Linked DNA regions of Homo sapiens: region 1 is linked to region 2. Evidence: promoter capture Hi-C in 16 types of primary human blood cells and fetal thymus (Javierre and others, 2016). All regions are on one chromosome and are shown on one strand. The core of a region is centred on a gene start or on the middle of the fragment in contact, and the rest is flanking DNA. Distances in the headings are between cores, read along the strand shown. Region 1 overlaps MIATNB (MIAT neighbor). Region 2 holds the start of PITPNB (phosphatidylinositol transfer protein beta).

What was found. Contacts are between HindIII fragments. The CHiCAGO score rates a contact against its expected background, and 5 or more counts as called.
Region 1: a contact is called between a fragment that was not itself captured here and the fragment with the promoter of PITPNB in region 2, in 2 of 17 cell types (naive CD8 T cells and non-activated CD4 T cells). The highest score is 5.7, in naive CD8 T cells.

The regions. Positions count from the first base shown.
Region 1 is chr22:26,679,670-26,686,896 of GRCh38, forward strand. All of the region lies in intron 1 of MIATNB (MIAT neighbor), which reads left to right. Among named protein-coding and RNA genes, the nearest start is that of MIATNB, 10 kb to the left of the region's middle. RefSeq lists enhancers at 1,075-1,899, 1,900-2,723. The HindIII fragment of the contact is 3,895 bases long and covers 584-4,478 here.
Region 2 is chr22:27,913,863-27,920,505 of GRCh38, forward strand. It overlaps PITPNB (phosphatidylinositol transfer protein beta), which reads right to left and starts at 5,394. Exons shown (of 12, transcript NM_012399.5): 1 at 5,310-5,394; 2 at 455-485. The coding sequence starts at 5,329. TTC28-AS1 (TTC28 antisense RNA 1) reads left to right here and starts at 5,514. Exons shown (of 5, transcript NR_026963.1): 1 at 5,514-5,683. RefSeq lists enhancers at 4,594-5,579, 5,580-6,564, 5,735-5,914 and silencers at 4,845-5,164, 5,355-5,424. The HindIII fragment of the contact is 2,643 bases long and covers 4,193-6,643 here.

The sequences.
Region 1 (7,227 bases), core at 1,281-3,780, 1.2 Mb before region 2:
GCGCCTGCCACTGCACCTGGCTAATTTCTGTATTTTTAGTAGAGTCGGGGTTTCACCATCTTGGTCAGGCTGGTCTTGAACTCCTGACCTTGTGATCCACCCGCCTCGGCCTCCCAAAGTGCTGGGAGTGAGCCACCTTGCCCAGCCGAGGGCTCCTTTTCCTAACAGAGGCCAAGCCAAGTGACTTCCCCTCTCTAAGCCTCAGCTTACTCCTCCACCAAATGGGCAAAGTACGCCTTTGGCTTCCATTCCATCCTGCCACTCTCAGCAGGGTTCACTATTTTGATAACACTGGTGTTTTCAGCAATGCAGGATCCCCCAACCATCGACCTCTGAGGCCTAGACTATTCCAAGAACTCGCTGATGCTGTGAGCTCTTCCTGCAGGCAAAACTGTTCCTTCTCTCTCCACCTCCAAACACACCTTCATTCACCTGGATTGAGTTAAAGTGGCCGGTACTGTTTTCCGAGTGTTTGCTCCATGCAGGCTCTGTGCTGAATGGTTTGGACACATTGATGTATGAAGTGCTCAGAAATAGTTTACGAGTTTCATTACCACCCCCATTTTATAGGAGGAGGCACTGAAGCTTAGAGAGGTGAAGAAACTCACCCAAAGACACATGGTTGGAGGATGGAGAAACCTGGATTCAAGGTGGTCACCACACCCATGGGGCCGCATCACCCCAAAATGCTGACTCCGTCTTGTGGGATCGAACCCAGTTACTCTTTCTATGCTGGTTTCTCTCCTGTCACTCCTTCTCCCTGCAGGGTGTTCATTGCCCTCGGGGATCTGAGCACAGTTTGTGATTTCATATTTATTGGCTCATTGACTGCTCCCCTGACTGTGAGCACCACAAGGGCAGGGGCAATGCAGCCTGCTTCACAGCTGTACCCTGGGTACCCAGTACTGCACTTGGCACAGAGTTGGGAGTCAACAACATTTTACTGAATGAATGAAACAAGAGTCAGTTGGGCTTTTCTAGTGGGTGGTGTCCAGGCAAATTAGGGAGTAGCCAGATCCACCCCTTACTGGTTATGTGACTTAGGGCTGATGACTTCCCCTGTTTGAGCCTCAGTTTCTCCATCTGTAAAATGGGAATAACTGTGTTCCTTTCTTTTTCTTTTTCTTTTCTTTTTTTTTTTTTGAGACGGAGTTTCACTCTGTTGTCCAGGCTGGAGTGCAATGGTGCGATCTCAGCTCACCGCAACCTGCACCTCCTGGGTTCAAGTGATTCTCCTGCCTCAGCCTCCCGAGTAGCTGGGATTACAGGTGTGTGCCACCATGCCCGTCTAATTTTGTATTTTTAGTAGAGATGGGGTTTCTCCATGTTGGTGAGGCTGGTTTCGAAATACCAATCTGAGGTGATCCGCCCACCTTGGCCTCCCAAAGTGCTGGGATTACAGGCATGAGCCATCGCGCCCGGCCCAACTGTGTCCCTTTCAATGAAGCTACCCGGATTTGGCAAGAGAGCATATGCAACGTGTCTGCATGTGATGGGCTCTCAATTCCTGTTTCATGTGTTGATGGTTTCTCTTGGCCTTGGGCAGGTATGGCAGGCCAACAGGGTTGGGGGAAGACAGAGTGGCCTGAGGATTAGACCGGGGAGCAACAGGACCAAGTCATGGAGCAAGCTGGCCGGCAGCTCTGGCCTCTTTATCCTCTGAGCCTGCCTGTGGTGAGCACTCAAGAAGCCACAGTCATGGCGGCCCAGTCCCTACAGTCATCTCTTGCCTGGCCCATGGCCTATAAACAGATCCTCCCCTGCAAAGCACCCACAACAGCGGCGTAGCCATGTAGCCAGGGGGACAGAGACCGCTGTGGGGAGCTGGTGCTGTTCAGCCTGAAACACTAGCGATTTCCTAATCTTCACTCAAGAGGCCTCTCCTGTGTGAAGGAGGCTTCCTCCCAGAGGAAAGCTCTGGAATGTAAGGAATGTGCCAGAGCCTCCAGCCCAGGCCCCAGGAAAGAGAACATCTTGGAGGCACAGGGCTGAGGGGGCATTTTCCCAGCCATCTCAGGGACGCCAGGCCACCGGGGAGCTCATACCAGACATCACCTTCTGGCAGTGGGGTCAGGCCTCAACCGCCTTTACGCTTTCCCAGGTTCTCAGGCTGGAATGACGGAGGCCCCGTGGACTCTCACGGTCTTTGATTTCAGCCTCTCGCCCAGCACCTGCACCCCTGGATCTGGGGCCAGACCCTGTACTGGGCACTGAAGTACAGAGAAAAATGAAGCTGGCTCTTGTCTGAGCCAACTGGAGGTGGGACAGGTCCAGTGTCAAGTCTGGATTCCCATACTGTGTCACCTTGGACAAGTCACGTCAGCTCTCTGAGCCTCTGTATCCCCATTTATAAAATGGGGGTAACACTAGGATCTTCTTTCTAGGATGGTCACAAGGGTGAAAGGCCCCCATGTTCCTGGTGCCATAAACAGAAATTATTATTGTTACAAAAATGGCTGTAACAATATCTCCCATCCCACGTGCGCCTCTTATAATGTGACTTTGACCCTTCTCCCCTTGACTCTGGGTGGTTTGTGACTTTGGTGGAAGTGATGCCATGTGACTTCCAAAGCTAGTTCATAAAACGCGGGAGGGCAATACTCACTCTTGGAACCCAGCCACCATGGTGTGAGGAAGCCCAAGCAGCTTCAAGAGGCTCACGTGGAGAGGAACCAAGGCTCTCACCCACAGCCTTGGCTGAGCTCCTGGCAATCCTATGGATGAACCATTTTGAAGGTGGGTCATCCAGCTCTAATTGAGTCACTGCAGTGGATACTGCATGGAGCAGAGACAAACTGTCCACACCAAGCCATGCTCCAATTGCAGGTTACTGAGCAAAATGATGGTAGTTTTAAGCCTCTAGGTCTTGGAGAGGTTCATTATGCAGCAATAAACAAGGATACAGTTCCTTTTAAGAAACAACTTTGTTTCTGTCTCAGCTGATCTCAGGATCTTTTTTCCCCAAATCCTAGTCCCTTCCAGCATTTTCCATCTCAGGAAAGAGCCCCAGTCTCTCCGGTTGCTTGAAAAAGAAACCTGACAGTCATTTTTCTTTCCTTCCTCAATCTCTGTCACAGCCATTGTCGAAGTCCTGTCATCTTACCGCCTAAATCTCTCTCTTTTTTCTTTTCTTTTTTTTTTAAGAAGGAGTCTTGCTCTTTCGCCCAGGCCTGACTGCAGTGGCGCTATCTCTATCTCGGCTCGCTGCAAGCTCTGCCTCCCGGGTTCATGCCATTCTCCTGCCTCAGCCTCCCGAGTAGCTGGGACTACAGGTACCCGGCACCACGCCCAGCTAATTTTTTGTATTTTTAGAAGAGACGGGGTTTCACCGTGTTAGCCAGGATGGTCTCGATCTCCTGACCTCATGATCCGCCTGCCTCAGCCTCCCAAAGTGCTGGGATTACAGGCGTGAGCCACCGCGCCTGGCCTTCTTTTTTTTTTCTTTTGAGACAGAGTTTCACTCTGTCGCCCAGGCTGGAGTGCAGTGGCACCATCTCGGCTCACTGCAATCTCCGCCCCCTGGGTTCAACCGATTCTCCTGCCTCCCGCCACTACGCCTGGCTAATTTTTGTGTTTTTAGTAGAGACAGGGTTTCACCATGTTGGCTGGGCTTGTCTCGAACTCCTGACCTCAAGTGATATGCCCGCCTCTGCCTCCCAAAGTGCTGGGATTATAGGCATGAGCCACCACATTCGGCCCTAAATATCTCTTCTCACTTTATTCTATCCCCCTGACATTGCCCCAGTCCAAACCACCAGCCTTCTGTTTTGGACAGCTGTGGCAGCTTTCTCACCAGCCTCACAGTTTCATAAGGAAAACGGGAATCTTGATATATGAATGATGTACGGAATAAGAAAAATCATCAGTGTTCAGTTTCCTTCACCTCCAGTGCTGTGTCTCTGAGCCCTTCATTTGTTTTTGCCTGGACTGTTCCCTTTTTTCCCCACATGAGCCCAGGATAAGACCCCTCCGGTCACTACATCTTGTCTATGCATAACACCCTCCTTGACTAAGCCTGAGCGAGTTCACTCACTGCTTTGGTCTCTGGGCAAGCAGGTCCTGTTTATTTTTTTTTCCCCATCTAGACTTTAGATTTGGATTCAGTAGTAGATCAGATATGCATTGACACTGTCCATGTGCCAGGCTCTGTGCTAGGCACCTAGAATAGAGTGGTGAGAAGAAACTAAATGTCTGTCCTCATGGAATTCTCAGTCCAGTGGGGGAGACAGGCATTCAGTATAGAAACAAGAAAGTTAAATCCTTTCTACCACTGTTTATTGCTATGAAAAGAAGTACGGCAGGACAGTGGGACAGGATGGCCCGGGTGGAGTGGAGGATGGGCAAGATCAGGCGGTGGTCAGAGAGGGCCTCTCAGAGGAGGTGGCATTTGAGCTGTTAAGATGGAGTCAGCCATGCGACATTAGGAGAAAGTGTCAGCAGGGGGAACAGCAGGGGCAAAGGTACTGAGGTGGGGATAAAGCTTGCCATGCTGAAGGGACAGAGGTAAGGCCAGAGCATAAGAGGCTGGTGGGATGTAATGTTGAAGGGGCAAGCCAGGGTTGGATAACTCAGGGCCTGCTGAGCCACAATAAGGAATCTGATTTGACTCTAAGTATATTTGGAAGCCATTGGAGGGTTTTGTACTGCAGAGTGACACCTCTGATTTATGCTGTAAACACTGGCTTCCAGCTGCTGGGTGCAGAATGGATTGGAGGGGGACGGGGAAGCAGGAAGCCTGGGGCGGAGGCTGTGGAGGAGTCCAGGTGAGAAACTGCATTTATCAAAGACACCATCCACACTGGTGTTGTGGGGCTGAGACTCCTCTGTCTCCACTGTGGACCAGCTACCCTGTGCCTGTGACTTCCAGACACTTCTGTCTGTTATTCTTTAAAAGGCAGTTCCCTCCTTAATTCTGAGGTGAGGATCTGCCTTCACAGACTCACTTCAGCATCCTGAAAGTCTGCCAGAAGCCCAGTCTGACTGCCTGAGTGAGGCCTTCCCAGCACTGTGTTAAAAGCTGGGATTGAACCATTTGTTCAGGCCCTCCAATCCTAGCTGTGCCCTACCTCCCCAGCAACTTCATCCTCTTCAGAAGGGCTGTCCCCACAAATAAGGCGGCAGCAACACCGTAGTGTGTTGACATTGGACTTGTGTTCTTATCTAGATGTACCAGGGCTGTATGACCTATGGCAAGTCATTTTACCCTGTTTTCCCATCTCTGCCACCTTCACCGCCTCTCCATATTGGTTCAACAAATGATGTCTCACACCTGTAATCTCAGCAATTTGGGAGGTTGAGGTGGGAGGTTCGCTTGAGGACAGGAGTTCAAGACCAGCCTGGGCAAAACAGTGAGACCCTGTCTCTACGAAATAAAAAAATAAAAGTAAAAAAATTAGCTAGGCATAGTGAGGCACACCTGTGGTCCCAGCTACTCGGGAGGCTGAGGCAGGAAGATCGCTTGAGCCCAGGAGTTCGAGGCTGCAGTGAGCTATGATCATGCCACTGATTCCAGCCTGGGTGAGTGAGTGAGACCCTGTCTCTTAAAAAAAAACAAACAAACCAGTAAAGGGTTTGTGCATGGTGAGGGGCCACTTGGAATTGAGAAAGCAACCAGGTTGTTAGTACTTTGAAAGAGAGAGGCAGACACCCCTTCTCTCCCTGGTGGGGCAGATAACACTGCTGTGCACACCATTAGTGCCCATTAAAAGTATCCTTTTATGAGGGCAAACTGTTCTTCAAGTTCACCTTGGATATTCCTGCTCGGTGTGAACCTCACCTGCTTTATGAAGGCTTCCAGGTTCAGCTGACCTCACGTTCCTTATGTCTGGCTGGACTCTGGATAAACTTTAATCCAAACACCCAAGACACTGATTTGTAATTTTCTTTGTGTAGATCTTTCTTCCTGATCAGGCCAATGTGTCTCGAAATGAGGCCCTCCAACCACATCATAGTTTTCAAGGTGGAATGGGTTAAAAATACAGACCCCTCTGAATCAGAATCTCAGTGTGTCGGCCCAGGAATCTGCGTCTCTGTTTTTTTTTTTTTTTTTTTTTTTGAGACAGGATCTCACTCTGTCATCCAGACTGGAGTGCAGTGGCACAATCATAGCTCATTGTAACCTTGAACTCCTGGGCACAAGGGATCTTCCTGCCTCAGCCTCTGAATAGCAGGGACTATAAGCACGGGCCAGCATTTCTGGCTATTTTTATTTTTTGTAGAGATGGGATCTTGCTAGGTTGCCCAGGCTGGTTTTAAGCTCCTGTTCTCAAGCCATCCTCCTGCCTTGGCCTCCCGAAGTGCTGGGATTACAGGCGTGACCCACGATGTCTGGCTGAATCTGTCTTTCATCTGGCAAATGATTCTTGGGCTCGCAGATGTTTTAGAACCAGTGCATTACAGAGTGAGTTCCTAAGCAGAGGGACTGCATCGGATACAGCACCACGTACCACGGTCCCCTGTGCAAATCTTACGCTCAATAAATGCATGTTGCTTGAATGAATGAGGTTTTAGGCAGGGATGTGGGGAGAGTCATTTTATTCTTCCTAGAATCCCCCACACTCGCTGATGGTCCCCATGTTCGACAAGAGGTCTCACCAAATTTTTCTGCCACTGGGAAACTTCTCCAGTAAGAATTCCCCTATGCCCCACTGTATAATCTTCTCATTAATACACAGTATTGTAAAGGTGATCTATAATTAGATGCTAACCGCGTTTGCCGTAAAATTGGGTGGGCGAGGTCAACAAGGTAAGCTGGGAGCCGGCTGATTGTTATGATCAATCAATAACCTATTTATTTCCCAACATTTCTATTAACCTCTGCCAGCCAATCACAGTTTCAATTTGAAAGGCTGGGGTCTGCTTTGCTGACTGGAGAAGTCTGATTGAAAGCGGGCCTCTGACATGACCCCAAGGGCGAAATCCAATTAAAATCATTTTCACTGGTAGATTAATATTTTTAGCATGTTCTACATCCTGGGATTCATCATTCCTGGCAATAACTAATGTCTTGTGACACGAGCAGGTGGATTGGCACTGCCATCAATAATAATTGTGATTAATTAGCTCATCAGGTGCTAGGATGGCTTTGGGGAGGCAGTTGGTGCAGCTTCTGGGAACTTCTCCCGTCAAACCCTGGTTATGTGGATGTCTCTGGGTCATACCAATGTAACGGCCTTTTCTGAGTAGGAATGGTGTTTATCTGTCTCTGGGTCTGAAACTCCCTTGGAA
Region 2 (6,643 bases), core at 4,144-6,643:
GAACAGGCTTATTTCCCATTGCTCAAATGGGATAAACTGTAAACAAGAGTCAAGCATTATAGGAAAAGCAGATTTTGGTTCAAACACAAATGTTTAAAATGTCCAACAGTAAAGTAGGCTGCTTCTCTAAGCAGCAAGCTACTTAACCTTAAAGTACTTAAGTTGAGGCTGGAGCCTCATTTCTCTGGGATGTTGGAGAAAGAATTCCTGCACTAGACAGGAGGTTAAACTACATTCTTTAGACTCTTCCAAAACAAGGCAGTGTAGCAAGAAATTCATTATCATTCATTTAATTCATTTTGCAATTCTTTGCAATTATCATTCATATAATTAATTTTGTCACATAAGGTGGAATGAAAAGGTAAATCAATACTACGAAAATGTGAGTTTAGAGTAACATATCAAAGTACAGTACATATACCAATAAAATGATGCAGAAGCAAGAAAAACTCACCTCCTGAACAGAACATGGCAAAACCACACGGCTAAAAAGACAAAAGAAAAAATATATATATTACATATGAAATAGCTTTAAACACAGATCTCTGAAGAGGTTTTACCTTAAATCCAATGATAACAGAGACAGGTCTCTTAAATCAAAAAAATACAAGGGTGTCATTTATGGAAGAGGGTCTTTGCAATGCCTACACCATAATTGGGGAACTAAAACTATCATTCCTGGGTCTCAATGATCATTTGCATTTAGTGTTCCCAGGACCCCAAACAGCAGCTGCAGAGATTCTTGTGAGTAAAGAAAAAAGAGAAAACTCAACATTGAAAATTGCAGGGTACAGAACGTATTATTTGCAGATTGTCTGGTCAGGTTGCCCTGACTAAATTTTTAGTATGGTTTCATTCTCCACCTATATACTGTGCATTTTGTTTTTATGATGCTTCTTACAGAATACGTGTCTTGAATCTCATTGAATAAACGCTTCCAGAAACTGTTCCCCCACTATTCAATTATTCCTCAAGTTTACTAAGAGAAAAATAAGGAGTCGTGTAGAATTAGTAAGAAAAATTTTACTATGGAAACTACTTGAACCTTATAATAATCCCTTCCAGCATATATACAATATAAGGTTGACATGTGTTTCATCCTGTCCAAGAGTTTCTTATTGTATATACCAAAAAGATGTCATTATAGCTCCATTGCAAGCAGTCTTAAAAGATAAAATCCAAAACAGTATCATGGTATATTGTTTTATCAAAATATTGCATCTTATCTCTAGATTTTATAAGGAGAGTCCTTAATTTATTTCCACCATAAATCCTGAAAACCAAGAACATCCCTGTATATCAATGGTCTCATAATTATAGTTGGTTCCAAGACAGCAACTTCCTTTTTTGTGGGATGGGGGTATACGATCCTTCTCATACTTTCCTAATCTTATCTGTCATTTTATGGAAAATTTTCAATAGTTTTCCTCATTCCAATTTCTTTTCAGCTTATAATTTCTTTTTCTTTTTTTCTTGCAGTAAGAGTCATTTAGCTTATTGTTTGTATTAGTGACAATCTTTTTGGCCTAGGCATTCTTTTTTAATAGTCTTTCTTATTCGTAAGTATGAAGAGAGTAATAAAACCCAGATTATATCTAGTTTGCATTCCAGCTACACTTTCCATCTACTCCTTTCTCCCTACTCTCCTCAAACATCTATGTCTGAATGTTCACATTACCTCAATCTCCAACATGCACAAGTCTGTTACTCCCTCCCCTTTGACTACTGAGTTACTCGCCACTCTTTGTCTTTCTGGTAACGGTGATTCAAAAACAATGAACACTCTCAAATCCACAATGGTCACTAATTTCTACTCTCCATCAAGAATAAACTTTTTGTAAGTCCTTCTATACCTAAAAATTCCGAATCATTTCTCTTCTCAGTATACACTAACTTGCTCACTGTCCCAGAGCATAAAATGAGGGAGAGGAAGACTAGAAAGCTATAGGTTGGGAGCAGATTATCAGGACCTGGAATACTATGGTAAGAAATCCATTAAATTCATCAGGCAATAAGGAATCCCAAAAGGTTGGTCCAAGAGGTAAGTGACAACTACTGCTGACCTGAAGAAGTCATCTGCAGGTGGTTGAAAACACTGACAAGCAGGAGAAGTGGGGAAAGCTATCTTTTGGGAGGCTAGGCAAGAACTGTCACAAAGGCCTGAACCAAGATGATGGACTGCAGAGGGAATGGAAGGAAGGGATAGAGAAAGAAGAGTTAGTCTTCCCTTAAGTTTCACAAAACCAAAGAATCACTGCTGAGTAATTTTACACTCACTAACAGGAAGATCCCTATTTTTATTTAAGAACACTTTCAAGGAAATTCTTTCAAAAAATTAAAGTGACTGATTAAGACATTCAGAACAATGAGTCAAGTAACTTCTTCAAGATTTGCTTAACAAGTAAAAGGGAAAAGGAACATACAGGCTTTGATTTTCTGTTGTTATTCTAAAAGCAGTATTCAACTTTCAGTGCCAGTTGAAAATGTTCAAATGTCTGAAAATCCTCATAAAAATAATTTCCAAATGGAATCAGTAACTAGTTCTTTAAAACCAGGACTTTACATTAATGGTAACTTCATCTACTGCTTAAATAATAACTTGAAGGGAAACAGCCCACCTCGAAAGTCATTTCTAACATTTTAATTCTTATAAAAAAATAAATAGAGGGCCAGGTGCGGTGACTCACACCTGTAATCCCAGCACTTAGTGGGCGGATCACCTGAGGTCATGAGTTCCAGACCAGCCTGGCCAGCAGGGTGAAACCCTGTCTCTACTAAAAATACAAAAAATTTAGCCGGTCATGGTGGCGTGCGCCTGTAGTCCCAGCTACTTGGGAGGCTGAGGCAGGAAAATCGCTTGAACCTGGGAGGCGGAGGTTGCAGTGAGCAGAGATCATGCCACTGCACTCCAGCCTGGGCAACAGAGACTCCGCCTCAAAAAAAAAACATAAAAATAAAAAAGAATTTTATAAGACAACAAACATTTGCCAAAGTATTTTAGTTACCAATATCTTCACATAGGAATAAGCTATTCATTGCTCCTAACCAACAAGAATTTTAGAAAGTTGACTTGAGAGTAAGAAGTATCAATTTTTCATTGAACAACACTGAATTCTTTAGAGCATGTTAGGCCTAGATGCTGTGCTAGATACCGACATTACTTAAGAAACAGCTTCTACCTTCAAAAAGTCTAGGAGGAAAAAAAATCTAGGGGAGATACACATGAAGAGTTAACATCAAGAAACTTAATTTATAACTCTTTGGGAAAAATAATTAGACTTTGGGCACGTGTCAACATTCATTATCTGGGTACATTTAAATCTTCATAATGAAAGCAAATGTTTGCAAAAAGCACAGTGCGCAAATTCCCAATAGGAACTGCTTTCCAAGAGTTAGCTTCATACTACTCACATACTGTCAAAGGGATCTACTGAATACTGTGTGTCTGTAACACTTTTGGAGGGAGGAAATACTCCAATGAAAGAAAAATGACTGGATCTATTTAAAATCAGTTCTGCAACTCACTTGCTGTGTAACTTGGTCCAAGTCAATTTCCTTCTTATTTTCTCCATTTGTTTTAGTGTCTGCCACCCATCTACCCACATCATCTAGAAGTCAGAGTAATGAACACTTGTTTGATACACTGTATAAACGACTTGGAAGAAAAGTTTTATATAAACCCAATATTCAGTACTATAAATAAGCTTTAATTGAGAATTTTCACTCTACCAAAAAAAGGCAAAATGTCTCTTCTCAAAATCCCTGTCACTGACCAAAGTTATCATTTTTCATCAATTCATTAACAAATATTTACTGAGCACCTATTACATGCGAGGGACTATTCTAAAAACTGGGGATATGAGAGTGAGCAAAACAAACTCATGGCCCTTACATGTAAAAAGAGAACACAACTAGTAGGAGAAAAATAATAATAATAAATTGTATTGGCATGTTGGATGGTGATAAGTACTATGGAGACCGATAAAGCAGGGAAGACAAATACCACCCCAAATAGTGGGAACTACAATTAGGTCTTCAGAAAGGGATTCCCTGAGAAGGTGACGTCTGAGCAAAGACCTGGAAGAAGGTGAGTTAGTGTGCCAAGGGAAGAACACTTCAAGCAAAGGGAACAAAAGCAGGTGGAAAGGTCTTGAACTGAACTTATTCTAGAGTAGCAGAGGAACAGCAAGGAAGCTTGCGAAGATGGAATGGGCAAGGAAAAGGTAGTAAATGAGATCAGGGCAGGAAAAAAAAGTGTAAAGCCTTGTAGCTGTTGCAGAGGCTTTGACTTTTATTCTGGGTGAGACAGGGAGTCTTTGGGAGGTATTAAGTCTCAGAGAAGTGCATCAGTGACTTTTTAAAGGAGGTTTAAGAACACTAAAAATAAGGTGTCTGAAAAAAGCTAAATTAAGCCAAAAATATTTCTAAGAATTTAAAATGAAGAATTTGAAAACCAACGAATGGGCCATACTCGACCTCCCTAGCTGCCCAAAGGATGCTGACGACACGAACCAGCTGTGACAGACGAACATTCAGAGGCAAGCAGATTTCCGTAATGTTTACAGTCCTTGCCAGTAGGAAAAGCCGTGACTTTTCAACAAAATCACTTGGCCAGTCGGATGCACCTCGAAATCCCTCCATTTGACAGAGCACGTGTTAACTTCTAAGAAAGTAGGTGGGGCCCGGGATGTCACCTCATCTTAAAACATGCGGAAACCAAAAAGAGAAAAGGCTCTCCCGTCAAGTCAGCGGAGCTGCCCAGGAGAGCGGAGGCTTTCCGGAATCCCGGCTCCACCACGAACTTCAAGGCGCCAGCGTCCCACCGCGAGTCCTGACACGAGGGCTGCCTTCAACCGGCAAGCCCATCTCCCGCTGGTTACCAGGGGACTCCACCCCGGACGACAAATCACAGTCAGAACCAACGTGTCTCTCCCACCCTCGGACTGCGGCTCCTTCCCACCGGCGGGCCTGGGGGTGGGCCCAGACCCAGCCTGGGGGTGGGGGGTTGGGGAGAAGGCGGGTCCCAGCGGAAACTCCCGGCCGCGCCTTCCCGAGCCATGCGCTCGGGCCGGGACCCAGCCGCCTTCGCCCCGGGGAAGGGAGAGGGCGTGTTACCACGGCAATGCCTGGAGGGCCGAGGGGCGCACTCGCTGAGGGGCTTCGAAGGGGCCGGGGGAGGGAGGGGGCGCCCGCAGGGAGGGGCTGACACAGGGCTGACTCCGATTTAGGAATATCCTACCACTTCTCCATCAACAAATCTCCCATCACTGCCGTCCCACGGCCTCGCTCGCGCCCACAGACCCACTCACAATTCCTTGATCAGCACCATCTTCCCGGAACCCCCTCACAGCTGCCGCCGATACCACCGCCGCCGCCGCCGCTACCGCCTCTCACAGCGCCTGCGCGGCCCCGCCTCCCTGCCCCCCCGAGCCACCATCGCGCCTGCGTGCTTACACCCTTCCGCCGCGACCAGTCGCGTCAGCGCGCGAGGGGGCCTAGCTCCGCCCAGTTTCGTGCCCCACCCCGGGCACACGAGGCCTCCACTGCGGTTGCGCAGCCTGCCGAAGAGCGTGCGGCTTCTACTGCGGCTGCGCAAGCTCGACGCGCGCACTCTTGTCTGCTTACGAGGGCTCCTCCCTTCAGCTTTGGTCCCTCGGGGCGTCTGGGCAGCCTACGCTTTCCGGTGAGTTTTCCAGTTGGTTCTTTGGAAGCCGTTTTGCGGTGACTGGTTTTCTGCTCTCTCTCACTGCTCCGAGTCAGGGCCCACCTCCTTGACCGACACCTCACCTCCATAGTCCACATAAAAGACTCCTGACAGGTTCTGGAGGCAGCCGACGCCAGCTTCTGTTCCCCTCCCCAGCCCTTGGCAGCTCAGGTTCCGCGGGAGGACGTTCACCTGCTTCGCGGTCTCGTGGAGGTCCACCGCGGCGGAGAATCCTAAACCTCACCTGTGACTCGGCAGGATGAGCGGCCAGCACTCCCGACGGAGGCCCTCTGGGAGAAAAGAGGCCCTTGGCCTCGAGACCCAGGAAAGCGGGCTGTTCAGGAGTTGGTTCGCGCAGTTACACCGAAAGCGCCGTGGGCCTCAAAGCCGCAGCCCGGAGGTCGCTGGCTTGCTCTGTGTCAGACACGGTTCTAGGCAGTGGGGATGCATCTAGAAGCAGACACAGTCCCTGTTCTCAAGAAGCTCACAGTCTAGAGGAGACAACTCACTTGGAAAGAAAGCAGGGAGAATTTGGGGTGGTGGGGAAGTGCTATGCTATGAATACAGTGGAGTACTGGGAGAAGCAGAGGACTCAAGACAAGGGCTGTCTTAGGAGGCGGTGTTTGAGCCTAGCCTGTTAGGATGTGAGAGGGGCATTCCAGTTGGAGGGAAATATGACCCGAGGATGGAGTAAGCCTAGGGTGTTCAAGGATCAGCTAGAGGGCAGATGTGGCCAGAACATCCTAAGTGAGGGTGGGAAATGAGCTGGGACCAACTGGATTACTAGGCCATAGTAAAGAATTTGTCTTCTAAGAACCATGAGAACCTGTTGAAAGGCTATTAAGACGATTAAAATATCACGAAAACATTTTTGTATAAACATCTGGTGTATCTGATAGTGGAATACATCTGTGGAGTTAGGGCTGCCTCCAAAAAAAT